Linked DNA regions of Homo sapiens: all the other regions are linked to region 2. Evidence: promoter capture Hi-C in 16 types of primary human blood cells and fetal thymus (Javierre and others, 2016). All regions are on one chromosome and are shown on one strand. Each heading gives the region's core, a stretch centred on a gene start or on the middle of the fragment in contact. The rest is flanking DNA. Distances are from core to core; before and after follow the strand shown. Region 1 holds the start of AMHR2 (anti-Mullerian hormone receptor type 2). Region 2 holds the start of PFDN5 (prefoldin subunit 5). Region 3 holds the start of TNS2 (tensin 2). Region 4 overlaps ATF7-NPFF (ATF7-NPFF readthrough). Region 5 overlaps PCBP2 (poly(rC) binding protein 2). Region 6 overlaps ATF7-NPFF (ATF7-NPFF readthrough). Region 7 overlaps SPRYD3 (SPRY domain containing 3).

What was found. The method cuts DNA at HindIII sites, captures the fragments that hold promoters and counts their contacts. A CHiCAGO score of 5 or more calls a contact.
Region 1: the fragment with the promoter of AMHR2 here is called in contact with the fragment with the promoter of PFDN5 in region 2 in 10 of 17 cell types (naive B cells, total B cells, erythroblasts and 7 more); the score reaches 9.0 in naive B cells.
Region 3: the fragment with the promoter of TNS2 here is called in contact with the fragment with the promoter of PFDN5 in region 2 in 9 of 17 cell types (total CD8 T cells, naive B cells, activated CD4 T cells and 6 more); the score reaches 8.2 in total CD8 T cells.
Region 4: a contact is called between a fragment that was not itself captured here and the fragment with the promoter of PFDN5 in region 2, in 6 of 17 cell types (erythroblasts, total B cells, megakaryocytes and 3 more). The highest score is 7.7, in erythroblasts.
Region 5: a fragment that was not itself captured here is called in contact with the fragment with the promoter of PFDN5 in region 2 in 7 of 17 cell types (erythroblasts, activated CD4 T cells, megakaryocytes and 4 more); the score reaches 14.0 in erythroblasts.
Region 6: a contact is called between a fragment that was not itself captured here and the fragment with the promoter of PFDN5 in region 2, in 1 of 17 cell types (erythroblasts). The highest score is 6.5, in erythroblasts.
Region 7: a contact is called between a fragment that was not itself captured here and the fragment with the promoter of PFDN5 in region 2, in 10 of 17 cell types (endothelial precursors, megakaryocytes, fetal thymus and 7 more). The highest score is 9.2, in endothelial precursors.

The regions. Positions count from the first base shown.
Region 1 is chr12:53,420,998-53,425,104 of GRCh38, forward strand. It overlaps AMHR2 (anti-Mullerian hormone receptor type 2), which reads left to right and starts at 2,858. Exons shown (of 11, transcript NM_020547.3): 1 at 2,858-2,986; 2 at 3,291-3,473; 3 at 3,712-3,903. The coding sequence starts at 2,938. RefSeq lists an enhancer at 176-742 and a cis regulatory region at 427-945. The HindIII fragment of the contact is 5,088 bases long and covers 662-4,107 here.
Region 2 is chr12:53,293,725-53,297,484 of GRCh38, forward strand. PFDN5 (prefoldin subunit 5) reads left to right here and starts at 1,818. Exons shown (of 6, transcript NM_002624.4): 1 at 1,818-1,915; 2 at 2,115-2,217; 3 at 2,520-2,551. The coding sequence starts at 1,844. RefSeq lists enhancers at 1,501-2,040, 1,526-2,725. The HindIII fragment of the contact is 3,517 bases long and covers 1,262-3,760 here.
Region 3 is chr12:53,047,979-53,051,687 of GRCh38, forward strand. It overlaps TNS2 (tensin 2), which reads left to right and starts at 2,087. Exons shown (of 29, transcript NM_170754.4): 1 at 2,087-2,282. The coding sequence starts at 2,208. All of the region lies in intron 2 of TNS2-AS1 (TNS2 antisense RNA 1), which reads right to left. RefSeq lists enhancers at 1-247, 248-1,091. The HindIII fragment of the contact is 14,276 bases long and covers 1-3,709 here.
Region 4 is chr12:53,509,152-53,512,811 of GRCh38, forward strand. The region is part of intron 12 of ATF7-NPFF (ATF7-NPFF readthrough); the gene reads right to left. It overlaps ATF7 (activating transcription factor 7), which reads right to left. Exons shown (of 12, transcript NM_006856.3): 12 at 2,903-3,660. Among named protein-coding and RNA genes, the nearest start is that of ATF7-AS1, 3.0 kb to the right of the region's middle. RefSeq lists a silencer at 1-118. The HindIII fragment of the contact is 2,618 bases long and covers 822-3,439 here.
Region 5 is chr12:53,474,102-53,478,143 of GRCh38, forward strand. The region is part of intron 14 of PCBP2 (poly(rC) binding protein 2); the gene reads left to right. Among named protein-coding and RNA genes, the nearest start is that of PCBP2-OT1, 12 kb to the left of the region's middle. The HindIII fragment of the contact is 550 bases long and covers 1,746-2,295 here.
Region 6 is chr12:53,525,490-53,529,298 of GRCh38, forward strand. The region is part of intron 9 of ATF7-NPFF (ATF7-NPFF readthrough); the gene reads right to left. The region is part of intron 9 of ATF7 (activating transcription factor 7); the gene reads right to left. Among named protein-coding and RNA genes, the nearest start is that of ATF7-AS1, 13 kb to the left of the region's middle. The HindIII fragment of the contact is 5,319 bases long and covers 1-3,809 here.
Region 7 is chr12:53,071,735-53,075,823 of GRCh38, forward strand. SPRYD3 (SPRY domain containing 3) reads right to left here. Exons shown (of 11, transcript NM_032840.3): 3 at 4,002-4,077; 4 at 3,361-3,485; 5 at 2,915-3,050; 6 at 1,552-1,737. Among named protein-coding and RNA genes, the nearest start is that of SPRYD3, 5.6 kb to the right of the region's middle. RefSeq lists enhancers at 148-648, 531-825, 649-1,149. The HindIII fragment of the contact is 2,730 bases long and covers 956-3,685 here.

The DNA.
Region 1 (4,107 bases), core at 1,608-4,107, 130 kb after region 2:
CAGGTTTCCCAGAAGAAAGACCCCAGAATCAAAAAGTCAGTACTCAAGCTGGGCGCAGTGGCTCCCGTCTGCAATCCCGGCACTTTGGGAGGCCGAGGGGGGCGGATTACCTGAGGTCAGGAGTTTGAGACCAGCCTGGCCAACATGGCGAAACCCCGTCTCTACTAAAAATACAAAAATTAGCCGGGCGTGGTGGTATGCGCCTGTAGTCCCAGCTACTCAGGAAGCTGAGGCCGGAGAATCGCTTGAACCCGGTAGGCAGAGGTTGCAGTGAGCCGAGATCGCACCACTGCACTCCAGCCTGGGTGACAGAGCGAGACTCCGTCTCAAAAAAAAAAAAAAAAAAAAATGTCGGTACTCAGACTGTCCTCCCTGGTCTAAGCCAGATCATTCCAAGAAAGGGTTTCCAGGAAGCCACTAGGGGGACAGAAAGCTAGGGAAACAGAGAACAAGTCCCCTCTGACTCTTAATTCTCAAGGAGCCAGTGGCTCACAGGTGTGGAAGTGATTACCTATTTCTGTTGTTTCTTACTCTGGGAAAGAGTCTGGTGGAGTTGGACTCCTCTGTCTCTACTGCAGAACAAGCCATAGCCCTCTCCTCCCAACTCCATGCTGAAACTCTCCACATCCTGTGCCCGCCCTTCACATTTTATAGTCCCTGAAGCTTAGTAAATGTAGGAGGTATACTATATGTATTAGTCATCAGAGGAGGTACTTTCTGCCCTCTCACCGCAGCAGGGAATTTCTCCTCTGCTGACCTCTGGTGGTGATAGTTTGAACTGTACCCTCCCTTTTTAGTTAGTGGCCTGTTGGCAGGTAATGATGCATATTTTCTCAACAATTTAAATTCAAATGTCCAAGTATAGTATTAAGTGGTAATTTTTTTTCATTGTTGAATTTTGTACGTCTTTCAGGCAGTATAGTGTAATACAAAGAATAGAGCCGGCCGGGTGCGGTGGCTCACGCCTGCAATCCCAGCACTTTGGGCGGCCGAGGCGGAGGGATCACGAGGTTAAGAGATCGACCCCTTCGGCCGGGCGCAGTGGCTCACGCCTGTAATCTCAGCACTTTGAGAGGCCGAGGCGGGCGGATCACGAGGTCAGGAGATCAAGACCATCCTGGCTAACACGGTGAAAACCCGTCTCTACTAAAAATACAAAAAATTAGCCGGGCGTGGTGGCGGCCGCCTGTAGTCCCAGCTGCTCGGGAGGCTGAGGCAGGAGAATGGCGTTAACCCGGGAGGCAGAGCTTGCAGTGAGCCGAGATCGCGCTACTGCACTCCAGCCTGGGCGACAGAGCAAGACTCCATCTCAAAAAAAAAAAAAAAAAAAAAAAGATCGACCCCATCCTGGCCAACATGGTGAAACTCCGTCTCTACTAAAAGTACAAAAATAATAATAAAAATAAGACTAGAACCTGGACTTTGGAGTCAGACCTGCCTAAGTTCAAATTCCAGCTCTGCTATTTCCTAGCTGAATGACTTTGGGCGACTTACGTAAGTTCAGTTTTCTTACCTATAAAATGGAAATAATAAAAATAATAGGCCAGGCACAGTGGCTCACACTTGTAATCCCAGCACTTTGGGAGGCCAAGGCGGGCAGATCACGAGGTCACGAGATCGAGACTATCCTGGCCAACATGGTGAAACCCTGTCTCTACTAAAAATACAAAAATTAGCTGGACATGGTGGTGCGTGCCTGTAATCCCAGCTACTCGGGAGGCTGAGGCAGGAGAATCGCTTGAACCAGGGAGTCAGAGGTTGCAGTGAGCCAAGATGGCACCACTGCACTCTAGCCTGGTGACAGAGCGACACTCGGTCTCAAAAAATAAATAAATAAAATAATAATAATAAATATTTCAGGGGAGAATTAGATGAGATGATTGTAAAATGCATAGCCCTAGCTGTGCCCCAGCACATAGTAGGTGCTTGATAAGAAATTTGTTACCTCCTTAATAATGGGTATTTGTTCAGCCTGTGAACCAATGTGTTTTTTTTTTTTAAGTAAAATCCACGGCTAGGCATGGTGGCTCACGCCTATAATCCCAGCACTTTGGGAGGCCGAGGCGGGCAAATCACCTGAGGTAAGGAGTTCGAGACTAGCCTGGCTGACATGGTGAAACCCCGTCTCTACTAAAAATACAAAAATTAGCCAGGTGTGGTGGCAGGCGCCTGTAATCCCAGCTACTCAGGAGGCTGAGGCAGGAGAATAGCTTGAACCCAGGAGGCGGAGGTTGCAGTGAGCTGCGATCGTGCCACTGCACTCCAGCCTGGGGGAGAAGAGCGAGACTCCGTCTCAAAAAAAAAAAAAAAAAAATCCACATAGCAAAATTTACCATTGTTACTGTTTTCAATGTGTTTTTTAAAAATTCAGGTAAGTTTTGTATACTTTCTGATTCTTAAGTTGGAAAACAAGGTAACCTCTAATATGGGCTGTGAGGCCTTCCTCTGCCCAAGCAGTTGCAGATATGAACCCTGAATATAAAGAGATCTTAGGCTAGAAAGGATCTTGGGCAGAGCTGAATGGCTCTAAGCATTTGACCTCACATTGGTTTCCTCCTGAGAAGAGTCAACAGAGTCCAGCATCTTCTTCCAAGGTCAGGGAAGGGCAAAGATTTGAAATTAGGCATCACTGGGTTCTCAGCTGGGCCTCCAAGTTCCCCTCCTCTCACTATGCAGAGCAAAGAGGAGGTTGCAGAAGAGAAGAGGATATGAGATTGGTTCTCTGCTCCTCCCTTTCTTTCCCTGCTTTCCCCACACCCACCCTCTCCCCCACAGCAGCCTTCTCCCCCACAGAGGCTGGGATAGGATGAGGGGGGCGGAGTTGGGGACTGAGGGATCAGAAGCCCCAGGATGCCCTGTATCTGAAGAAAGATTTGGCCAGGGGCAGCTGTGCTGGCTTATGCTCTTCTCCTTCTGCTGCTGCCATCCTCCAGCAAGATGCTAGGGTCTTTGGGGCTTTGGGCATTACTTCCCACAGCTGTGGAAGGTAAGTGTCTACAGGGAGGGGAAGGGTCTCTCCATCCATCCAGCAAGGGAAAGGGGCGCTTGAAGCAAGAGCCACCCCTTTGGAAGAGTGGTGAGTGGGCTGGGTGAGTAAGGGTGAAGGATAGAGCCATGTGTCCCCATGGCAGGGCTCAGGTTCCAGGCCTCTGCTGACCCTGCTTCCTCCTGTGGCTTTACCATACTGACGCTGGGATGTGGAACATGTTTTGTCTATTCTTTTGGCCAGTTTTTTGCCTCTGCATTCACTCCCACCTTGAATCTTTTCCTTTCCCCACCCTGGGCCTCAGCACCCCCAAACAGGCGAACCTGTGTGTTCTTTGAGGCCCCTGGAGTGCGGGGAAGCACAAAGACACTGGGAGAGCTGCTAGATACAGGCACAGAGCTCCCCAGAGCTATCCGCTGCCTCTACAGCCGCTGCTGCTTTGGGATCTGGAACCTGACCCAAGACCGGGCACAGGTGGAAATGCAAGGTGAATGGCAAAGTATATGGCAGGTGATGGCTAGGGTGGGAGACAGACACATCCTGGGGTGTGGGTGGCAACCAAGGGGGAAGGGGAGAAATAGAACATCTGGTGGGAAAGAAAAGCCCATGAGAGCTGGAAGGGACGCCTCTGATAGAGAAGGGATTTACCCTCTGTTTCCACACCCCATTGTGCTTTCTTCCTTGCCCCCCCTTTCTCTCCTCTTCCCCTAATCCCATCCCATCAGGATGCCGAGACAGTGATGAGCCAGGCTGTGAGTCCCTCCACTGTGACCCAAGTCCCCGAGCCCACCCCAGCCCTGGCTCCACTCTCTTCACCTGCTCCTGTGGCACTGACTTCTGCAATGCCAATTACAGCCATCTGCCTCCTCCAGGGAGCCCTGGGACTCCTGGCTCCCAGGGTCCCCAGGCTGCCCCAGGTAGCCACCCAAGGGTACTGAAGCCTGATGGGGGCTGGGGCCCAGGTTAGGATGAGAGGTGGAACCAGGGCCAGTTCTCACCCTACTCCCGCCCCACGCTTTCCTCCTCCTGGCCTTGGGAAGTTGGTTGCCCTGGTGACTGGGAGATAAGGGGTCTTGTGACCAGGGTGGGGGTGGGTTGAGACGCAAGCTCTCAGGAGGGGA
Region 2 (3,760 bases), core at 568-3,067:
AACAGGTTACAGCAGATCAAGTTTGAGTGCTTGGGGAAGAAAGGCAAAGACACAGGACAAAGCCTGCTGGGCCTGGCTGGGCCTCAGCAGACAAATCTGGAGGAGAAAGGGGCATCAAAATGCTAAGTAGAGACAGGCCCAAGGAAGGGTAGTGATAGACCCTTTGAGAGTGTTTTGGCCAGGTACCATCCGTCCGTCCTGTCTTCCTGCCGCAGGTATCTTTGGAGTGGCACTAGTGTTTTGTTTTTTGTTTTTGTTTTTTTTTGAGACAGAGTCTTGCTCTGTTGCCCATGCTGGAGTGCAGTGGCGCAATCTCGGCTCACTGCAACCTCTGCCTGCTGGGTTCAAGCGATTCTCCTGCCTCAGCCTCCTGAGTAGCTGGAACTACAGGCACATGCCGCCACGTCCCACTAATTTTTGCATTTTTAGTAGAGACAGGGTTTCACCATATTGGCCAGGCTGGTCTCGAACTCCTGACCTTGTGATCCACCCTCCTCAGCCTCCCAAAGTGCTGGGATTACAGGCGTGAGCCACCGCGCCCAGCCATGGCACTAGTTTTAATGCCTCAGTTGCCCTGCCTGCCTCCTAAGTAGATGTTAAAGGCTACTGCTGTCTGCCCATGTACACCTGTTACACTTACCAATGTGTAACTTTAGCAGTAGAGTCTGTGGATCTGTGGAGTTCTAGTGTGGTTTTTCTCTCCAATTGTTAAGCTCAAGGGAAGCAAGTATCTTACACTCTCACGTATCCCTCACATACAGCACATGGTAAAACCTTTTTTTTTTTGAGACAGAGTCTAGCTCTGTTGCTAGTGTGCACAATCACAGCCTACTGCAGCCTCAACTCTCCAGCTCAAGCGATCCTCCCACCTCAGCCTCCCATGTAGCTGGGACTACAGGCGTGTGCCACCAGCCCGGCTAATTTTTGTATTTTTTGTGGAGACGGGGTGTCGCCGTGTTGCCCAAGCTGGTCTCAAACTCCTGGGCTCAAGCAATCTGTCCTTCTCGGCCTCCCAAAGTGCTGGGATTGCAGGCGTGAGCCACCATGCCCGGCCAAAATATTTTATTGATTAATTTGTGCTGTACTTGGTTGACAATGGCGCTTCCTTGCTGTTCTCCCACCACCTCACTGGCAACGGGTGATAAACCCTTTTTCAGATCCTACTACGTGTCAGCCTACTTCCGGCTGGGGGAAGATGGTTATAGCGAGAGGGGAAGAATTGGTTCAGTGATGAGAACATGGTTGGTTCCTGCCTTCGACAAGCTTTCAATCTAATGCCTGTTTTTTTCCAAGGACAATTCAGAACGGTCTGACAAGGGATTTTTTTTTTTTTCCTGCCTTTCGGCCTCAGAGGCCATCTGGGAAAAAGAGTTTAGAATTTCCCTGCCATTTCCATGCCGTGCTGGGAGGAACATTTGAAATCGGGCCTGGCGGGGTACCAGCAGGCAGCAATAGCAAGCGGGGTGGAGAGGAGCAGGGCCAGGCCCCCGAGCCGTCGCCATGGCAATCCAGCCTGCTTTCCAGTAGCTTATACCACCCACGTGGAGTAGCATACACTACTTTGTAATATCGTGGTTGTGTCGTGAGAACTTTAAGATTTTGCAGTTCCTTGTAGGCAGGAGTCCTGTTTGCTGCTACTTTACAATACTAGGCTTAAGACATTTTATGAAATGAACTCACACAACAGTCTCTGAGAGGCTCAAGCCCCTCCTTCCCTTCCGGGACGGAGGATCATAGAGCTGTCTGGCGCAGCGAGGCCTCCCGGCGCCACCGAGACGCGCAGAGGACGGCTAGAGCGTTGCTCGCCGAGAGACTTCCTCTTCGTTAAGTCGGCCTTCCCAACATGGCGCAGTCTATTAACATCACGGAGCTGAATCTGCCGCAGCTAGAAATGCTCAAGAACCAGCTGGACCAGGTGGGGACGGGCCCCAGAGGCACCTCTTTCCTGCTCTACATCCCCCTTGCCCACGCGTACTTCTCGCGCCCGGTTCCAAGTTGGCAGCCTACCTTTCCCAGGCGAAACCTCTATCCGATCCCAGGACCTGCCCCCTCCCCGGCCGCGCTCCTTTCTCCCCTTAGTCCTCTCATTGACCCGCTATCCCGGTCCTCTGTAGGAAGTGGAGTTCTTGTCCACGTCCATTGCTCAGCTCAAAGTGGTACAGACCAAGTATGTGGAAGCCAAGGACTGTCTGAACGTGCTGAACAAGAGCAACGAGGGTATGGGGTAGGCGGGTGAGGGTAACCTAAAGTGGCGAACCTGCTTCTCTCGTCCCACCTCCTAACCCAGTTTTTCTTACCTGAAACGAGAAAATCCATTACATATCGTATACCGCTTCATGAACCCTTTGCATGTTGCCTGCCTAGAATTGAAAAGTACAGGACATTCCTCTGCTCCTATTGCCCCTGTTTCCGTTCTTTTCACACTGTCTGTGGGTGCTGTGCCCTGTTGGAACTCTCTTTAACGTCTTACGTTGGAGCCGCTAACCTTCCCCAGGTGTTTGTCTTCATTGCTTTCACAGGGAAAGAATTACTCGTCCCACTGACGAGTTCTGTATCCTTTCCACAGGAACGGCTACCTGCTGCCTTCTCCCTTTCTCCTTCACTCCCCCAAAAAGCGGGGAGGGGGATTGTTTTGATTACTTCAGATTACCCTCTCCTCACAATGATTTTGAGGATACCCTTTTTTTTTTTCTTTCTTTTTTGAGACGGAATTTCGCTCTGTCGCCCAGGCTGGAGCGCAATGGTGAGATCTTGGCTTACTGCAACCTCCGCCTCCCGAGTTCAAGAGATTCTTCTGCCTCAGTCTCCCGAGTAGCTGGGACTTTAGGTACGCGCCACCACGACCGGCTAATTTTTGTATTAATAGTAGAGTTGGGGGTTTCACCATATTGGCCAGGCTAGTCTCGAACTCCTGACCTCGTGATCCGCCTGCCTCGGCCTCCCAAAGTGCTAGGATTACATTACAGGCGTGAGCCACTGCCCCCGGCCAAGAATACTCTTATTACACACTTTGTAGCTCTTTTATCTGACTTCACACCAACATCCAGCTAATGTCTTGTGAACACCAAGGAGTATGTATAGTTGAGATGTAATATTTCCCTTTGCTGTTTGAGAACATTAATATGGAGATAAAGCTGGTGGTTTACACTTTGCTAATATCTTAGAAGATACAGGCAATAGACAAAAATAGGAGGATATAGAAACAGGGAGCTTGGCTCTGTTAATCTTCAACTTCAGCTTAATTGTGGCTCATTTCTAAACTGTCACTAAGAAACCTGGATTGTGTTCACTTGTTCAGTGTTTTATTTGAATGAGCAAGTTATGGCAGTAGGGCATCTTTAATCTGTAGTCTCAGAACTGACAGGCTAAAAGGAACACAGGAATAGTAGTGTGTAGTAGGGAATGGTTTAAAAAAAAAAATTAGCCAGGCACAGTGGTTCACGCCTGTAATCCCAGCACTTTGGGAGGCCAAGGCTGGCAGATCACCTGAGGTCAGGAGTTAGAGATCGGTCTGGCCAACATGGTGAAACCCTGTCTTTACTAAATATACAAAAATTAGCCAGGCGTGGTGGCACATGCTTGTAATCCCAGCTACTCCGGCGACTGAGACAGGAGAATTGCTTTAACCCGAGAGGCAGAGGTTGCAGTGAGCCGATAGCGGGCAATTGCACTCCAACCTGGGCGATAGAGCGAGACTCTGTCTCAGAAAGCAAAAAACAAACAAAACATTGACTTTGTCAGGAATTAGCTACTTCATGAT
Region 3 (3,709 bases), core at 837-3,336, 250 kb before region 2:
GGGGTTTCTCCAAACAAACCCAAGACTTCGGAGAGAGAGGGGGCCCGGCTGGGGGAGAGGTTGACAGGCTCTGGAATGTTACAGGCGGGAGGAGGGTGAGGGTCCAAGAGGGTCTAGTGATGCCTTCCCAGCCCTCCTCAAGTGAGCTACTTTTCCCCTCGGGACTGGCTCATAGGGATCCCATCCCTGCTTCCCTTCCGAGGTGCGAGTGCCACAGGATGGGAGGGACTCACAGCCACAGTGGATCCTGACCACCCCACCCCTCACCGAGCTCACTGCTTGGGCACCTCCTTGCTGGGTCTGGGTGGGGAGTGTGAGACCAGTGAAGGTGAGAGGATGTCTGGGGACCTGTTCCAGGTGAGGGGACTTTCAGCCCCTATGGAGGCAGCAGGAGAGTGAAGCATGTAGAGGAGTCCTGGTCAGGGCCATGTGCCATAGGAGCAGAAGCTGGGACTGGACAGAAAAAAGCCACCCCCACTGCCCACCTTGTCACACTGCCCCATCTCCCCCAAGCAGGGCTGGGGGCTCGACAAGGCCAGGCCCGGTTGCCCACACTGGCCGGGGGCCTGGAATGTGCTGGGACACAGCCAGGCTGGCAGGATGGGGGTGGGTCACAGAGCCCGTGCTCCTCTCCAGTTACAGGCAGGGAGCCCAGGCCTGCCACACAGATGCCACCTTCTGGCCAGGATATCCTGGGGACACATTTCTTGGCCTGGAAAATTGGAGCTTCCAGGGAGAGGTGTCAGGCTAGGCCCAATCCAGTCAGGTCCTCGCAAGGGTCTCAAGTGGGCACCCACAGCAGGCCTCACCCCAGAGAATGCAGGATTCTTCATCCCAGGGAACCCATCCTGGTGGATATGAAGGAGCAGGAAGCAAGTAGAAGGGACTCCGTGGGAGAAGCCAGGGCTGGGGGAGTTGCCTGAGTACTGGGACATTCAATAAATACCATGCAAATGAGAGGGGCACATTTGCACATTCTTTCAAGTGACAGCTATAGCCTGTCCCAGGGGCTGCTGTCCACAGCTTGGGGCTGAAGACTCCCAGGCCATTAACCCCTTAGCTTTTAGGAAGATTACTCCCCCTTTTTCAAGGCCCCATCCACCTCCCTCCCTTGACTCCCAGGACGGGAAGTTGGCCATGTTCCCAGGAGGGAGGCCGGAGGCCCATGGATGGGGGTGGAGTATGTGTTGGGAGGGGGGACCTCCTGTCCAGTCCTCAGGCCCTGGGACAGCTGCTGAGGAAGGAGAGCAGACCCAGGAGAGCCATGAAGGTAGTACTCAGGCTTCGGGGTTGCCGCGGGGGGAGGGTGCAGCCCTTGGGTAGAGAGCCCAAGTTGCAGGGCTGGAAAGAGGGCTAGGGATCTGTGAGATCATGTCTGAAACAAAGCCAGGGAATGGGTGAGTGGGGGGCACTGTGTCAGGAGCAGAAACCTGGGGGCTTTCAGGAGAAGGGCCTCATATGCCTTAGGCTGTGGCAGGAGAATGGATTACTCCCCAAACCTGAGCAAAGCAGTCTTGTGGCTGGAACTTGGCCTTGCAAGGTGTATTGAGGGTAAAGGTGGGCGGTGCATGCTTTCCTTTTCCTACTTCATAACGAGTGAAACTGAGACAGGAAGGGGGCCCCCAGTCCCATTTTTACCTGACTCTCAGGACACACTCGGGATCCTGGGCCTGCCTGCTGGTAGTAGTTCCCAGCTCCACTCCCTCCCCAGCGGAAGTCCCTCGAGAGCTTGAGAGTTCAGGCTGGAGCCTGGCTGGGACACACTGTTCCCCACTTGCCCTTTAGCCCTGCCCCGAGACCAGAATTCTCACCCGGCCCCACCGGGGGTGGGGGCAGAATCTCAAGACCATGGATCCCTGCAGATCCCTGGAGAGTGTGGTGTCCCAGGTGTGGGACAACTCCAGAGTTGGGGGAGTAGGGGGAGCAAAAGATCACAGGCTGACACTCCCAGCAGGGTAGATCCTGGGAATCTGATCTCCTGGCCTCCCCCACATCCTCCCCCCTCCACTTCCTGGAGCAGCGACCTGCCCCCTTCCCGCCTGCACTTCCCTCCACTTCCAGGGCCGGGCTTCTCCTCACACCAGCCAGACAGCCTACCCTCCGCCCAGGGGAAGCGGCTGCCTCCGCCAGGCCGCTTCCAGGAAGCCCCGGGCCAGGCCCCAGCATTGTTCAGGCCCTGGGGCCAGCACCCCAGCCAGCCGAACACCATGAAGTCCAGCGGCCCTGTGGAGAGGCTGCTCAGAGCCCTGGGGAGGAGGGACAGCAGCCGGGCCGCAAGCAGGGTAGGAGTGCCCACCAGCTGGGCAAAAGAGGGGCAGGGGTGGAGGTGCGGGCAGTGGGGGAGGGGACCAGGAATCAGGCCAGGCCTTCTTCCCAATTTCAGCTTCCTCAGCCTTCTTCCCTGGCCCAGCATCCCCTCCGGAGTGGCCAGGGCTGTAGTGTGAGGGGATGTTTGGGTTAGAGTAGGTCCTGCTGTCTGTTTTGGCTCCTCTCACCTTCCCTGCTCTAGCCTGGGCCAACCCCAGGAGGTCCTGGCCCCCCAACATAAGCCCCAGGTGCCTCACTGCAGGACTTTGCCATGCGCTATCCAGGTATCCTCCAGCAGGCTCAGAGATCATCAGGCCCCTTCCCTGGCCCAGGGAAGTTTGAGGGAAATGGGGTGGCAGGGTGGAAAAAGAGAGAGGAGAGGGAGTCAGGAGTGCTTTGGAACTGGAGGTTTGCTTTCCACTGACAACATCCATATCTGCTGCTAATGCCAACATGCTCCCAAGTGTCTTAGTGGGTCCCACAAAGTTGATCCAGCCCAGAAGAGTTGCAGGGACAGTCAAGAAACCAGAGGTGCTGCCCACATCCCCATCACTCCCTTTCCCAACTTCCCAGCCTTGCCCCAAAAGCAGCAGCTCAGGACAACCTGAGATACTACTGTGATGGGTCCCCGGGAGGAGGACAGCAGGAGTCTGAACTCCAGAGGAGGGGGAATATGGGTAAAACAGAGAGATGGCAAGGAGACAAGCTGTCCCCAGACAGAGGATGGGAGGAGAGAACCCACAGTGGGAGGGGAAGGGACTGAGATAGGCCTGGGCCATAAGGGGGCATCCCAGGCTCCTGCCTCACTGCATCTCTGGGTCAGGAGGGGCTGAACAGGGAATCTGGTCCACTCCTTTCTCATTCAATGCGTGAATCCCAAGTGCCAGGGTGCAGGGGGTCGGGGGAGAACTCACAGCATCCAAAGCCAGCTAAACATCTCTCCCCAGTGACAGGCTTCTATCTGTTTCCCTCCAGCATGACCACCCCCATTACACAATTGCTGTCTGCTGCCTCAGTGCACAATGAGTAAACATGTTGTTCTGACCGTGGGGGAGGAGGGCATGTCAGCTGCCTGGAGCGTGGGGACAGCAGGAGCTAAAGGAGCAGGACTGGCTGAGGCCACTCCTGCCGGCTCAGTCTGGTGCTGCAGGACTGACATACAACACATATGTTTGGAACCTCCCTGCTCACTCTGCACACAGGTCTCCATGCGGGGAGGACAAGATGGGAAGAGTCAGGGAGTACCCTTACCACACCAGGGGGAAAGCCTGAGCATGGAGGCTTTTCCACAAGGGCATCACACACCAGGGCCATGTGAGGGGCCCAAGTGATCCCCTGGGGAGGAGCTGACCCAGCAAAGGTGACGCAAGGGGTCAGATTCCATGCACAGTTGAGGACAGGC
Region 4 (3,660 bases), core at 881-3,380, 220 kb after region 2:
TGAGCTTCAGTTTCCTCACCTGAAACATGGGCCCATTTTACAAGGAACGCCTTCCTAGGGTGTGCATTACTTAACATACTTTTTGTAATCCATTCAATAAAACAGCTTGCATAGAACAGGTATCCTCAAAACGTTAGCTGTGATTGCCTCATGTGCCCCAGTCGGGGAACTTACCATCTCCTCAGACAGTCTTCGGACATATTTATCCTTGTGCCGAGGGGGCTTTGGGCTTCCTGTGACTTCTACTCGGGGTCTTAGTTTGCTCCATTAAGTCTCAACAGAACATCTCATCTCTTTCATGTGTAAAAGCTCTTCATATTTTTGAAGAGAGAGTTCATTCTTACACTCCAGCTTTTTTTTTTTTTTTTTTACGATGGAGTCTGGCTCTGTCACCCAGGCTGGAGTGCAGTGGTGCGATCTCGGCTCACCGCAACCCCTCTGCCTCCCGGGTTCAGGCGATTCTCCTGCCTCAGCCTCCCAAGTAGCTGGGATTACAGGCACACACCACTATGCCCGGCTAATTTTTGTATTTTTAGTAGAGATGGGGTTTCACCATGTTGGCCAGGCTGGTCTTGAACTCCTGACCTCAAGCAATCCACCCACCTTGGCATCCCAAAGTGTTGGGATTACAGGCGTGAGCCACCGCACCTGGCCCACTCCATAGTCTTTTTTGCTCAAGGGGAAGCACCCCACTCTTTAAGGCAAGGCATCTAGGAACCAACTTATCCTTTAGACACGTAGATTAGAGCAGGTTTGGATCTGGATGCTCCAGATACCATATTTCTGTTAATGCGGACTAAGCCAGGGTAAACCTTTTCGTAAGCTTTGTCTCATGGTTGGTCCCAACCACAAAACCTGACATTCATCATCATGGTATCTTGTAGTTTTATCTTTTTTTTTTTTTTGAGACGGAGTTTTGCTCTTGTTGCCCAGGCTGGAGTGCAATGGCTTGATCTCGGCTCACCACAACATCTGCCTCCCAGGTTCAAGTGATTCTCCTGCCTCAACCTCCCGAGTAGCTGGGATTACAGGCATGCACCACCGCGCCTGGCTAGTTTTGTATTTTTAGTAGAGATGGGGTTTCTCCATGTTGGTCAGGCTGGTCTTGAACTCCCGACCTCAGGTGATCCGCCCGCCTGGGACTCCCAAAGTTTTGGGATTACAGGCATGAGCCATTGCACCCGGCCAGTTTACCACTTCTTAAAAGGGAGTATCAAGGCCACGGGGAGATGGCTTTTCTGTGGGCAGTAGCTGCTGCATCCCAGAATGATCCTTGTCTGCTCCTGTGTGACAGAGGTCCAGAGGAGCAGCGGTGTGAGGGTGGATGGGACACTGCAGAGCTGGTTCTGGGCCAGACAGAACTCAGTTGTAATCCTAGCTCTTGCACTTCACTGTGTGACTTGGCTAAACCTCAATTTATCATCAATAAAATGAAGTGACTACTCCTGTTATCACTAGGTGAACAGTAAAGCAATCTACCATTCCACGTAGCATAGGGCAGCCATTCCATGTTTACCATCCTGCTGCTTCTAGTATTTCTCTAAACATCAATTACAAGTGGCTCTGGGCTGAGCTGCATTCAGAAAGAGGCTGGTTTAGCTGGCTTCCTGTGTCCAGGATGGAGGTAACTGGTCTCCTTTGAAGTTGGAATGGGTTGATTCCTCTAATTTTGTAAACTGCCCAGTTTTCAGAGTGCAGCTTCAGTGGTGGGAACCTCCAAAACCTCATAATCTGGGCTTTGGTATTTGGCTTTCAGCAATTTCCTTTCTTACCCTTCTCTGGACACCCATGTGCTCCTGGCCACAACACAGTGAAGACCACCACTGCCTTTCCTGCTCTCCTCAGGAGGCACAGGCTATTTGTGTCAAGTGTCTACCAAACACCAGCCACAGATAGCTTCTTAAGTCATTTCTCTCCTACTGGGAAACTCCAGAGACACCTGCTATCTCTTTTGTCAAATTCTTCAGCCTGGCTCATTGTTCTCATTTGTGATGTTATTTATAAAGGAATATACAGATGCAATAAATTATCTGTGATTTCCCTACACCTCTTCCTGATTCCCACAGTCTCTGAGCATTACCTGTTTTTCTTGTGAACTCTTACCTGCTTTTTTTGAGATGGAGTTTCACTCTTGTTGCCCAGGCTGGAGTGCAACGGCACGATCTTAGCTTACTGCAACCTCTGCCTCCCAGGTTCAAGTGATTCTCCTGCCTCAGCCTCCTGAGTAGCTGGGATTACAGGCGCCCGCCACCAACACCTGGCTAATTTTTGTATTTTTAGTAGAGACGGGGTTTCTCCATGTTGGCCAGGCTGGTCTCAAACTCCTGACCTCAGGTGATCAACCCGCCTCAGCCTCCCAAAGTGCTGGGATTACAGGCATGAGCCACCATGCCCGGTTTTCTTACCTGCTTCTAAGTAAACTCTACCCCTCATTTCCAGACCAGCCTCCTCCTTACCATAGAAAGCTATACTTTCCGTCTTTGTCTGTGTGTGTGCTCCCTGGTCACAACAGCCACTTTTTAATGGTTGGGTGGGGGTTGGCAACAAAACACTGAAAAGTAAAAGGCCATTTGCCATCAGCAACTCTCCCACCCGCCATCCACATAAAGCACATACTAAGTTTCCTGTGAGTACTTGCTGCCAGGATGCCAAGGGCCCTTGTCTCCAAGGCAGTCCACAGGAGCTCTGCCCTGGGCCTTCTGTCATACTTTGTAATTTATAGAAATCATCCACTTTCTCTAGGCTGTATCTCCCATGTATAAAAACTAGAGACAAAAATCCCTGTTCCTTCTGTCCTAAGAAATGGGGGAGTGATGAAGATGACAGACATGAAAGGCCAGTGACCTCCCAGAAAAGGGGACAATGGGGGCTGTGGATAGAGGAGTGAAGCATCAGACATAACAGTGGTTCACTTGATAGTTTAATGTTATATTTGCAGCATAAATAAGGCACAATATATGCCAGGGCAAGGGAGGGAGGGAGAAGGCATAGCTGGGGGGATAACTGCTAAGTGGCAAGGGGGAAAGGAAGACAGTATGGTTAGGGAGAATAGAGCGAAGCCCCTGCCTCAGCCCAGTCCCAGGAGATTGTGAGAACCAGCTCACAGGGATCATGCTGAATCAGGTGGAGGGGAAAAGGGAAAAGACAGTTTTGTAACAAAAAACAAAATAGCCTGCAGCACTGCATCCTCCTACCTGTCAAAGGCCACCACTGGGCACTGGGGAGACCCAGACCGAGTTGAGTTCCTTGATAAGATGGAGAGGTGTTGCTACATGTCAAAAATATATAGATGAACAGAGATATAATCATAGATACACACTGCTTCCTTTTCAATAGATACTATGTTAGGATGTGGCAGCCTCCACTCTTGGGGCTGGAAGCTCATCTCCTCCCTGCCTGAAAGGTGTGTGTGTTGTAGGGGGAGGAATGGGACAGCTGAAGCTTGGCTGGTCCTTACTGTAACAGAGAACATGGAGTGACCAGTCTGCAAGGGAATATGGGACAACTCCTGTCCAGACCAATGCATGGTTTTAGGGATACGACTAAAATGAAGACAAATCTAGCTTTTGAGATCAGTGATATGATGGGGAAGACTTTAAAGGGAATGGAGGAAGAGACTGAAAGAAATGAAAGCATGTTAGTGCAAAGGCAAAAGATGTA
Region 5 (4,042 bases), core at 771-3,270, 180 kb after region 2:
AGCAGCAGCATTTTCGCTTAAGTATGAATTTTTAGGTGATACTTGAGTTTCTCTTTTCCACTTCTGAAAGGTCCACATTAGAAGTATGATCAGTCAGAAACAACTTTTTATACCACCTCCCACCAGAAAAGCTTCCCTAGTTCTTATCTACACTTCTGTTCTCAGCATTTTTCTTTGAAAACGCTACATTCTTTGAAATTTGAAATTAGTCAGTGACCTACTTTGGACTCTTGTCTCTTTCCACCCTGATACTGGTTTGTTTGCTGTGGAGATGTAAGCAGACTTTAATACATAGCTGGAAGGATTTTTAAAAATTCTGCTTTATAAATATTCAAAGCTTCACAAGTAATTGTGGGATAATTGATTTTCTGTTAGAATAGGAAATTGACATTTGATTAGAGGAAACATTTCTTCCTTGTTGGGTGATTGATGAGTATCTTTTTCTACCCGAAATCATTCCTTCAACATCTGGGTTGGGTCAGTGTGTCAGATACATGAAGTATGTGCCCTATGATTTCTTTTCTCTGTCAGCTTTTTCTTCACCATAGCAGTTTTTAAGTAGCTCTGTGGAATGGAAATATACATATTTAGAGGGTGGGACATAGGCTAAAAGAAAGCTTGTCACAAGTTGACACTAGGTCTTCCTAATTGTCAACCAGAGGCACTTACTGATATAACTGAAGCAGTTTTTGTCCTGTACTTACTCCCTTTTGTGGTCTTCCCTTCCACCCACCCTTTTTTTTTGTTCCTTTTTTCCTCTGTTACAGTTTAGAAAACGCTAAACCCTCCTCCCAGGCAGCCTCCGTCACGATCCCTGATCACCTCAGCATCAACCTCTCTCAACCCTCCACCCCTTCTTCTTCTTCCTCCTCCACCACCACCCCCTCGCTCGCCACAGCGGGGACCTCCGACGCACCCTCCAGCCTCCCCAACCCTCTTCCGACCGCCCCTTGTGTCTCCAGTCTGCTTGGCATGAAACCCATCCCTCTCCTGGCTCTAAATGTTGTGTCTGCTGCTAAGGGTACCGGGGCTTCAGCTACCACCACCACCACCTCTGCCGTGCCATGTGTAACTAACAAACTGAAAGGCGAGAAACAGAGATTCTCTCCCTACTGATTGCATACCTTGAGGCACCTCCTCCAGTATTATTTTGTTCATTTTGTTTTCCTTTGTTAACATTGGTGAGAATGAAACTATTGTGAGCTTGTTACCGTTTCCTTTTTACTACTTTGGGGGATAACTGGGTGGGGGTGGGGGAGTGGTAACCCTTGTTTAGGTTTAGGCCATTTCAGCTGAGTGCCTGTTTCAGGGTCTGACTTGAATTCTTTATCTAGAGCCACAGTTTTCTCTTCTTTCTTGTTTGTTACTTTTCTTTGTAGCTTTATTCTGCCTTGCAATATAACAATGTGTTAGGCTCTGTGTTAATGAATAAAAGCTGCTTCGTTAACTTTTTTTTTTTTTTTTAAGAATTATTTAATGGTTAAGCTATCAGCAGGCCTTCTTGGCCATATTTGTGTTTCTAGCTGTAATAAAGTTGGCGCAGTAAGAACCTTAGTACACTGTGTGCTGTGAAGGGTAAAGGGTTGGGGGCTTGTGACTTGTGGCTATTCAGCTAGGAAGCCTGTATAACTGACATGGGCTTTTTGAATCCCAAGTGAATTTTATAGTCGTTTGTCAATATTTCCACAAAGAGATAACGAGTCTGTGGCAGTTTAGATCCTGAAGGTCCTCTGTAATTGGCAACAAGCTTCACTAGTGAGGAAGTTTATCTGACTTCTCAGATGGCCTTACCTTGCCAGCAGCAGCTAACAAGGTGTTCATCCCAGGATTCCTCTGGTGAATGGTTACCATGAGGATCTCTTCCAAGTCATACATTCAAAGAACATACTTCTTTACCCAGAATGAAGGGGAGGGGCAAAGTGGGATAAGTCTAATAAAATTAGGCAGCTTCTGTCTGCATTCCTCTGAATTAGCATTATGCCTCTTTCTGTGACATTAGGTATATCTCAGCCAACCCGTGACATTATCCACAACTTGACATGATGCCATCCACTAGTCCTAAACCAACTCTGTCAACCAAGTTTCTTTACCCTTTTTTCTATTCCTGGCCGTATCCTTTCTGCTCCCCACCAGCACTATCAGGAGTAGGAAGTGACATGCTTAGATTTGGAAGGAACCTTAAGGATCAACTAATCTGTAACACATTGATCCCCTCATTTTACAGATTAAAAAATAGAGGCCCTAAGATAATTTAAATTCATAGGTTATGAGTGACTAGCCAGGACTAACAACTTAAGCTTTACTTTTACTCAATCGTACTAACCTCCCTGAAATCTTGTTCATTTTCTTATACTAAGATGGGCACAGGCCTCTCATAAAACAGTAGAAATGTTCTTAGTATGGTGGTATAAGGCCTCTGATAGCCTTCCATTCAACGAGAGTACACGTTGCCACAGTGCTGAAAGTGTAATGCTCTTCCCAGGGCATTAGAGAACTCAGTGTAGAGATAGTTTCCCTGATGACCTTTTCCCAGCATCACCATTGGCTGACAAAAAAAAAAAAGCTGTTAGTATTCCAATATATTATCTCATTCTTTGATGTTATTTTGGCCCCTCCATCCCAGATTGGGCCTGTGAAGAAGTGTTACACGTCTCAAGTATGCATAAAGGATTAGATGGCCAAACCTGTCCAGTAAGGAGTTTTATTTAGTTGCTCCTTTATCATGTGGTCCAGCTCTCTCCCTTGGTAAGCTTGCTCCTCCTGTAGTTAGGACTTAATCATGCTGATACCATCTCCCCCCAGGGATGTGGTTTTATCTAGTTCTTGATTGGAAGGCCTCTTAACCTAATGGCTATTCCCCAAGGAAGGATTCCACATGTTTAAGGGTCTAGCTACCATCACTACCTCCAAAGGGCCTCAGTTTTAAATTTTTTTAAACCCTAGAGCTCCCCCATGTGGTCTTTTATCCTAGAGTACCTGACTCAGTATTTCATAGCATCCCCTTCTCCCTGCGTCACCTCCCCCACCCCAGCAAATCCCCATTCGGGCTTGATACACATTCAGAACATTTCTTTCAGAGCTCTGGTGGGGCCAGAGTGCTACCACCAATTTTTATGAACTTAAATTTTCAGGTCCTAGATCTAATGGTATCTAGCAGTTCCTTTCTTAGACCTTCAGTTCTTACTGAACCCTTTAATCCAGGGCTATTGTTTACCTTTCCTTAGATCATTGTGTTTTGAAATTGGCACGAATCTACCCCCCTTTTAAGAACTAAATATCCCCTGCCGGGCACGGTGGCTCACGCCTGTAATCCCAGCACTTTGGGAGGCCGAGGCGGGTGGATCACGAGGTCAGGAGATCAAGACCATCCTGGCTAACACAGTGAAACCCCGACTCTACTAAAAACATAAAAAAATTAGCTGGGCATGGTGGTGGGCGCCTGTAGTCCCAGCAACTCGGGAGGCTGAGGCAGGAGAATGGCGTGAACCTGGGAGGCGGAGCTTGCAGTGAGCCGAGACCGCGCCACTGTACTCCAGCCTGGGTGACAAAGCAAGACTCTGTCTCAAAAAAAAAAAAAAAAAAAAAAAAAAAAACCCTAAATATTCCCTTAATACTGAGGTGGAGAAACCATTTCTGACTAAAAGTAAATAGTTTGTAGTCGAAGGACTTTGCAGTTTTTTGGCCCTTGCTTTTCTACCCAGCTTTTGGCTTTGCATTGTTGTGGAAGGGATACAGATGGTGAATTACCAATCATGTTTTCATGACCACATATCACAAATATTTTATGCTAATCAGTTTAAAATCTTATGAAATAACTTATCTTATGAACTGAAATGAAGTCTTATACATTTGGTTCTATTCAAAATGAGGGCAAAGTCTTGCTGCCTACCTACCTACCAGTGAAGCATACTGAGTACTTAAATACTTTTCCCTGAAAGCCCTAAATTGGATTCCAGGACCTCAAATGACTATCTCTTTGAAACAGAAAGGCATTGTAGCCAGGTATGTTTAGATGGAGGATATGGCTTGACAAGATCTAGGA
Region 6 (3,809 bases), core at 827-3,326, 230 kb after region 2:
AACAATTACATACTATTACAGGTTTCAGAAATGGAGACAAATGTTCTTATCCATTTCACTGACAGTGACATATGAGTTATTATGGGGAGATATAGATAAGTGTATTATTTTTATTTATAATCAGTTATTAATCATACTGAAGAACCCCCTTTTGTTTATAAACAAAAAATGTTTAATCCCTTTACAAATTGGTGATATAGGACTGTCTTGTTTTTAAAGTTCAAGCTGAAGTTCCTTGTCACTAAAGCATTTTTGGATCATCCCTTTCTGTTAGTTGGGATGCACTTGGAGAAGAAAGACCAATTTTATAATAGAAGCCAAAAATTTCTTAAAATGTAGAAAGGTCAACCATCTGTAGAAAAAAGTTCAGCCTTGAACACAGGCTTGAGCTGCAAAGGTCCACTTACATGCAGATTTAAAAAAATAAGTTATACCGACCAGCTGGGCATGGTGGCTCATGCCTGTAATCCCAGCACTTTGGGAGGCTGAGGCAGGCGGATCACTTGAGATCGGGAGTTTGATATCAGCCTGACCAACATGGAGAAACCCCATCTCTACTAAAAATATAAAGTTAGCCAGGCATGGTGGCGCATGCCTGTAATCCCAGCTACTTGGGAGGCTGAGGCAGGAGAATTGCTTGAACCTGAGGTAGAGGGTGCAGTGAGCTGAGATTGAGCCACTGCACTCCAGCCTGGATAACAAGAGTGAAACTCGGTCTCAAAAAAAAAAAAAAAAAAGTTATACCAAGTGTACCTGCTTCTCCGGCCCCCCTTCCAACTTCTCCACCTCTTCTGCTTCTGCTACCCCTGAGACAGCAAGACCAAGCCCTCCTCCTCCTCCTCCTCCTCCTCAATGCGAAGATGATGAGGAGGATGAAGACTTTTATGATACTCCACTTCTATTTTAATGAATAGTAAATATATTGTCTCTTCCTTATGATTTTCTTAATATTTTCTTTTCTCTAGCATCCTTTATTGTAGGAATACAGTAGATAATACATATAACATACAAAATGTGTGTTAAAACAACTCTATGTTATTAGGATGGCTTCTGGTCATCCTAATACTTTGGGATGGCTTCTGGTAATATTAGGATGGCTTCTGGTAATCCCAATACTTTGGGAGGCCGAGGCAGGTGGATCACCTGAGGTCAGGAGTTCGAGACCAGCCTGGCCAACATGGCAAAACCCCGTCTCTACTAAAAATACAAAAATTAGCCAGGTGTGGTGGCAGGCGCCTGTAATCCCAGCTACTTGGGAGGCTGAGATAGAAGAATTGCTTGAACCTGGCAGGGGGAGGTTGCAGTGAGCTGAGATTGCACCACTCTACTCCAGCCTGGGCGACAGAGCAACACTCGGTCTCTAAAAAAGTAAAAAATAAAAAAGTTGGGCCGGGCGCCGTGGCTCACGCCTGTAATCCCAGCACTTTGGGAGGCCAAGGCGGGTGGATCACCTGAGGTCAGAAGTTCAAGACCAGCCTGGCCAACATGGTGAAACCCCGTCTCTACTAAAAATACAAAAATTAGCTGGGCATGGTGGCGCATGCCTGTAATTCCAGCTACTCGGGAGGCTGAGGCAGGAGAATCGGTTGAACCTGGGAGGTGGAGGTTGCAGTGAGCCGAGATTGCGCCACTGCACTCCAGCCTGGGCAACAGAGCGAGACCCTGTCTCAAAAAAATAAAATAAAATAAAAAAATTAAAAAGTTACATGTGAGGCCAGGCGCAGTGGCTTATGCCTGTAATCCCAGCACTTTGGGAGGCCGAGGTTGGGAGGATCACTGGAGCCCAGGAGTTAGAGACCAGTCTGGGCAACATAGTGAGATCCGTTTCTACAAATAAATAAAATTAGCTGGGCATGGTGATGCATTCCTGTCATTCCAGCTTCTTAGGAGGCTCTAGTGGGAGGATCATTTGAGCCCAGAAGGTTGAGGCTGCAAGTGAGCCATGACTGTCCCATTGCACTCCAGCCTGGGCAACAGAGCAAGAACCTGACTCAAAAACAAATAAAAAAAAGATGCTGGGCATGGTGGTTCATGCCTGTAATCCCAACACTTTGGGAGGCCGAGGCAGGTGGTCACTTGAGGCCATGAGTTCAAGACTAGCCTGGCCAACATGGTGAAATCCCACCTCTACTAAAAATATAAAAATCAGCTGGGCGTGGTGGTGCACACCTGTAATCCTGGCTACTTGGGAGGTGGAGGCATGGCTTAGACCAGGATGGAGGTTGCAGTGAGCCAAGATCACACCACTGCACTCCAGCCAGAGTGACAGAGTGAGACTCTGACAAAAAAAAAAGAATCTTGTACTCTACTCTAGGCCCTACTGAATTATATTCTCCATTAATATAGATAATTAAGAAATGATTTTTTTTTGAGATGGAGTCTTGCTGTGTCACCCAGGCTGGAGTGCAGTGGTGCAATCTTGGCTCACTGTAACCTCCACCTCCCAGGTTCAAGCAATTCTCCTGCCTCAGTCTCCTGAGTAGCTGGGACTACAGGCGCCTGCCACCATGCCTGGCTAATTTTTTATATTTTTAGTAGAGACAGGGTTTCACCGTGTTAGCCAGGATGGTCTTGATCTCCTAACCTTGGGATCCACCCGCCTCAGCCTCCCAAAGTGCTGGGATTACAGATGTGAGCCACCCTGCCCGGCCAAGAAATAATTTTTTAAAATTCAGACTAATATTATCTCTCCCAAAATAAAAAAATGGAGAAGAAATTTCCAACTCAATTTAATGAACTAGAGGCCTTGGTTCACTGTTTCTCATTGTATAAGAAATTTACAGTAATTCTCCTGAGAATTTCGGCTTCCTCTTTATCTTTAGCTGACTGGAGCACATGTAAAGATTAGTCCTTTATGGCCAGGTGCAGTAGTTCATGCCTGTAATCCCAGCACTTTGGGAGGCCAAGGCGGGTGGATTGCCGGACCTCAGGAGTTTGAGACCAGCCTGGGCAACACGGTGAAACCCCGTCTCTACTAAAATACAAAAAATTGGCTGGGTGTGGTGGCTCACGCCTGTAATCCCAGCACTTTGGGAGGCTGAGGCGAGTGGATCACCTGAGGTCAGGAGTTCGAGACCAGCCTGGCCAACATGGTGAAACCCCGTCTCTACTGAAAATACAAAAATTAGCTGGGCATGATAGTGGTTGCCTGTAATCCCAGCTACTCAGGAGGCTGAGGCAGGAAAATCGCTTGAACCAGGGAGGCGGAGGTTGCAGTGAGCCGAGATCGTGCCACTGCACTCTAGCCTGGGTGACAGAGCGAGACTCCATCTTAAAAAAAAAAGAAAAGAAAAGAAAACAAAAGAAAAGAAAAAATTAGTTCTTTAGGAGAATAGGGGAAAGGAAAGGTTCCTATTCTGTCATAGGCATTTCAGTAAGTCATGCAGGGAATGGAGGTGAAAGACTAGGCCAAGAGAAACGGGAAGAACGACAAGGAAAGGAATCAGTGTTGATTAAAAAGGAAGCTGGGGCTGGGCATGGTGGCTAGGGCCTATAATCGCAGCACTTTGGGAGGCTGAGGCGGGAGGACTGCTTGAGTCCAGGAGTATGAGACTAGCCTGGGCAACATGGCGAGTCTCCATCTCTTTTAAAATTATATATATATAAAAAGAGGAAGCTGGACATGCTTTACCATGTTCAGGACTGGCTTCAGGTACAGTAACTCATGACCAGCCTGGGCAACATAGTGAGACCCTGTCTCTAATATTATTTATTTAGTTATTTATTTAAGACGGAGTTTCACTCTTGTTGCCCAGGCTGGAGTGCAATGGTGCGATCTCGGCTCACCGCAACCTCCGCCTCCCGGGTTC
Region 7 (4,089 bases), core at 1,071-3,570, 220 kb before region 2:
AAAAAAAAAAAGGAAAGTTGGCATGACTGGAAAAAGGCACATGTCCCTCAGGAAGCTCACATCCAAGTTGGCCCCAGAGGAACGGGTGCCCCAGGAGTAGTGCTCCCACCCTGCCACCTGGCCCAAGCTGGGGTGAGGGTCTGAGAGAAGGGCCCAATTCAACAGCTTATGTCTAAAAAAGAAAAACACTCTTAAATAAGTGGCTGAAGGTGTTGGGGGGAGGGTGGGGAGGAAGGAAGGCTATTTATAAATGTCTACAGGATTCTGCATCAATTAGAAAAGATTGCCTGGGAGGAGCTGAGAGCAGAGTGGGGACAGGTCCAGGCAGAGAAAGGATGCCAGGAAAAAACTCTTGAGGAGAGGTCAGAGATGAGAGCTGGAACATCGCCCTGGCGCAGCCCCAAGTTTAACTCTGTAGATGTTGTCAGAATGATGGTAGATTGAGGGGAAAAAGGAAAGACATGAGAGTCACGGAGTGGGCATCTGAGGCCTCTTAGCTCTCGGTCGCTGCAGCCTGGGACCCTGATGCCAGACGGGGGTGCAGAGTGTCAGAAGCAGCAGGAGGGCACACTTCCTGTCATTTTCCCTGAGTTCCACTCCACCAGGGGGAGGCCTGGCTCCTAATCCGCTCCCACCCCCCACTGCTTCTGTTTTGTTATCAAAGACTGAGTTGAAAACAGCCTGGGTTGGGGTGGAAAGGCCAGAGGGTGGAGAAAAAGGCCAGGCCAGGAGCAAGGGGGTAGGAGAGGGACAATTCGAAGTGGGAGGGCTGAGCAGCCCACTAGAGGTCAGGGCCAGATCCCGGACTTGGCGTCCATTCACTCCCAATGCAGCACAGTGTATTGAGGCAGACAGGAAGAATTTTCCTTTCTCAAGGTTCATGAATTTTCCAACAAAACTTAAAATCCGGGGAGGAAGAATTCCCCTTTCTCAAGCTCCACACGCTTCCCAACGAAGCTTAAAATCCATACTAAAGCAGGTATGAGGAAAAGATAAATGAAGCAAGTTTGGAGGTGTAAGGATGCTCACTGAATCTTTATCTGCCTCCATTCTAATCCTCTATCAAATGCAGGGATAAGACAATAGAAACTGACATTGACACTTCCTCAAAAAAGATGGCTAAGAACCTTCCACCACATGTGTGGACTTCTGACCACACCTGCCCCACAACACTTTGAATGAAAAGCCTGGGCCAGGCATTTTGCCTCCAGATCAACCCCCAGCCCCTCAAAGGCAGTTGTGCAGGGCTGTAGAAGACACCAGAAGCTGAAGGAACCAAAAAAGGCAAAGCAGAACTACTTGTTCCCAGGGTCAAACTGCGAACCTGAGTTCCCTGAAGAGGAGGAAGTGAAGAAAAGAGAACATGTGCTAAAGAAAACACAGATCTGGACTCAAGGACTCATGTCAAGAGCCTAGGCTATCTTGCCAAACCCCACACGGACACTGTCCCGACTCCCCATTCCCAGCAATTCAGACATGACCATGTGCCCACAGGTGTTCTGCCCAGCCTCCTCCGACCCAGCCCCTCCCACCCTCCCACCCGCTACTTACAGTCCCACAGACTCTGACATCATGTAGCCGGCCCCATTCATCCTCGTAACTGTCCACCATCATGACGCTGTCGTCCTCACGGCCCAGCTCAGCGTTGAGGTGCAGCCGCACCTCCTCACCCAGGGAGTGCATGCCCACTGCTGGGAACAGTCCATCTGGGGACATGGGCATGATGGTAGAGCCCACCTGCAGTGGGGGGAAAGACGGAGCTGCCACCCGGCCTGCTTTTCCATAGCTCACCTAATTCTCACAAGGGTACTTTTAAGATGATGCAACCAGCCGGGCGTGGTGGCTCACGCCTGTAATCCCAGCACTTTGGGAGGCCGAGGTGGGCGGATCACAAGGTCAGGAGATTGAAACCATCCTGGCTAACACGGTGAAACCCCGTCTCTACTAAAAATACAAAAAATTAGCCGGGCGTGGTGGCGGGCGCCTGTAGTCCCAGCTACTCGGGAGGCTGAGGCAGGAGAATGGCGTGAACCCGGGAGGCGGAGCTTGCAGTGAGCCGAGATGGTGCCACTGCACTCCAGCCTGGGGGACAGAGCGAGACTCCATTTCAAAAAAAAAAAAAAAAAGATGATGCAACCAATAATTATCACACACACTGACAGATTAAAAAAAAAAAAGCAACCCAGAGGTGCAGAAAAGTTTCCAAATGTGCTAAGTACTCCTGGCTAAGCAAGGTATGTACAGAGCTAGAAGACAAACACAAGTCTCCTGACTTGCTGCCAAATACTTTCAGTACGTGTGCTGGACAGGAGAGTGCCGAGGCGCAGATGCTAAGGCAGCAGGACCCCTTGGCCAAGGCCTGAGAAACCAATTTCCCAATGTGGGAGATGGAGTTGGAGAGAAGGGAGAGAGCTGTGTGTCTCTCTCTACTATTGGCTCCTGTCCCATCTCCTCACCACGCCTAGTCTCTCTACGAACAGGATAGTGAAAGAGACGTGAAACAAGGAAAACAGGACACAGAAAGGACATATCCCCAAAAGTGCTCAAGTCAAAACCCAAAGAGGACCTCCAGCTTACATGGCCAGGCCATAATCTTCCCCTCTCTTTTATCTGCTCAAAACCTTCCCCCAAATCACCCAATTCTGTTCCCCACAATTCCTGCTCATCCTCTGCTCCACTAACTTGCCTCTCTCTGCCTGTCATCTGGGCAATGTCCCAGCTTCCTCTGGCCATGGGAAGTATCTTCTCCTACACGCAAGAGACTTCAGGAGAATCTGAGGCTGGACTGGAGGAGATGGGAACTCAGTGCAAGGGTCCCTGGGCAAGCCCCAGCCAGCAGACTCTTCCTAATCACTCCCCACAAATCCTTGGGCAGATTTCAGCCACGTAAATCCCACCACTATTTCCCACTCACCCGCTTCCCATTTTTGGTGAAGAAGATCTGGGCGGTCTGCACATCAAAGGACACAGGCTCAATGCCACAGCCAATCCGGTCCCCGGAGTTGCACTTTGACCCAAACTGGCGGCCCTTGGCTCGGCCATTGTACAGCCTACAGACAGAGTAGTACAGACACAGGACCCGAGCCTGGCCTCCCAACTTCTCCCCAGCACTGACAGCAGAGGCCTCATCCTCATCTTGCTGCTCCTGGTCATTCTGTGATGGTACCCACTTACGTCCTGGCGTGAGCATCACCCTCCTCTAGTCTGTAAGCCTTCAAGGGTGCTGCCAGGCCACTTCCCTGTCCTGACCAGAAAAGTCTATGAAACACCCAATGGGAAAAGCCAGCCCAAGGTAGTTCTTCAGATCTAAGATTCCCAAATTCATAGGAAAAGGGCCGGGTTGCACAGGAGCCAACTCACTTGCCATCATCAGCATGGTAGGCTACAGAGTCAGGCAACCAGCCAGGCTGGTGATCCAAGCTGTAGTACTGAGGGACCAGCCCCACAGCAATGGTGCCCCGGACTCCACTGTCCACAATAGACACCTGGAGAGAAGAAAGCAGGGCACAGTCAGCAGGGCTGGGAAATGGGATGAATTGCTGGGGGTGGGGGAAGGGGACTTAGAGATTAAAGGGCGCTGAGGCTCAAAAAGAAAAAGGACATGGGAATCAGGAAAAAAGATAAGATACTCAGAGGGGGCAATTGGTGAGAGTGGGTGCCTATTTCACTTAGAAAATTACTCCAAAGCTTTGGAGAAAGATAGGACTCACGTCCCTATATGGTGGGTTTGGGTTAGGGGACATGAGTCAAGTCTGGGATATGGGTCAAAGTCTACCTAGCTAAGGGGTAGGAGAGCAGAAGGGACAGGGTGACAGGTTTCCAGGGCACCTATCTCTCAGATGAGGGGCCATGCTATCCTGCACCTATTTCCCAGCCAACAGGACAGCCCTGATGGAAAATTAAAAGGCCCAGGTCATACATCTAGTAAAGGAGCTTCTTGGGGCTTAATGATCTCACCCCCAAGCTCACCCCCTGCTCTGCCCACCCACTGCCTTGATCACCTCAAAATAATTGCTGTCCTTGGTCAGGGGTCGAGAAGCCACGTAGCAGCCAACTTCACCAGAGTTTCCATGATAACTGAAGGAGGAA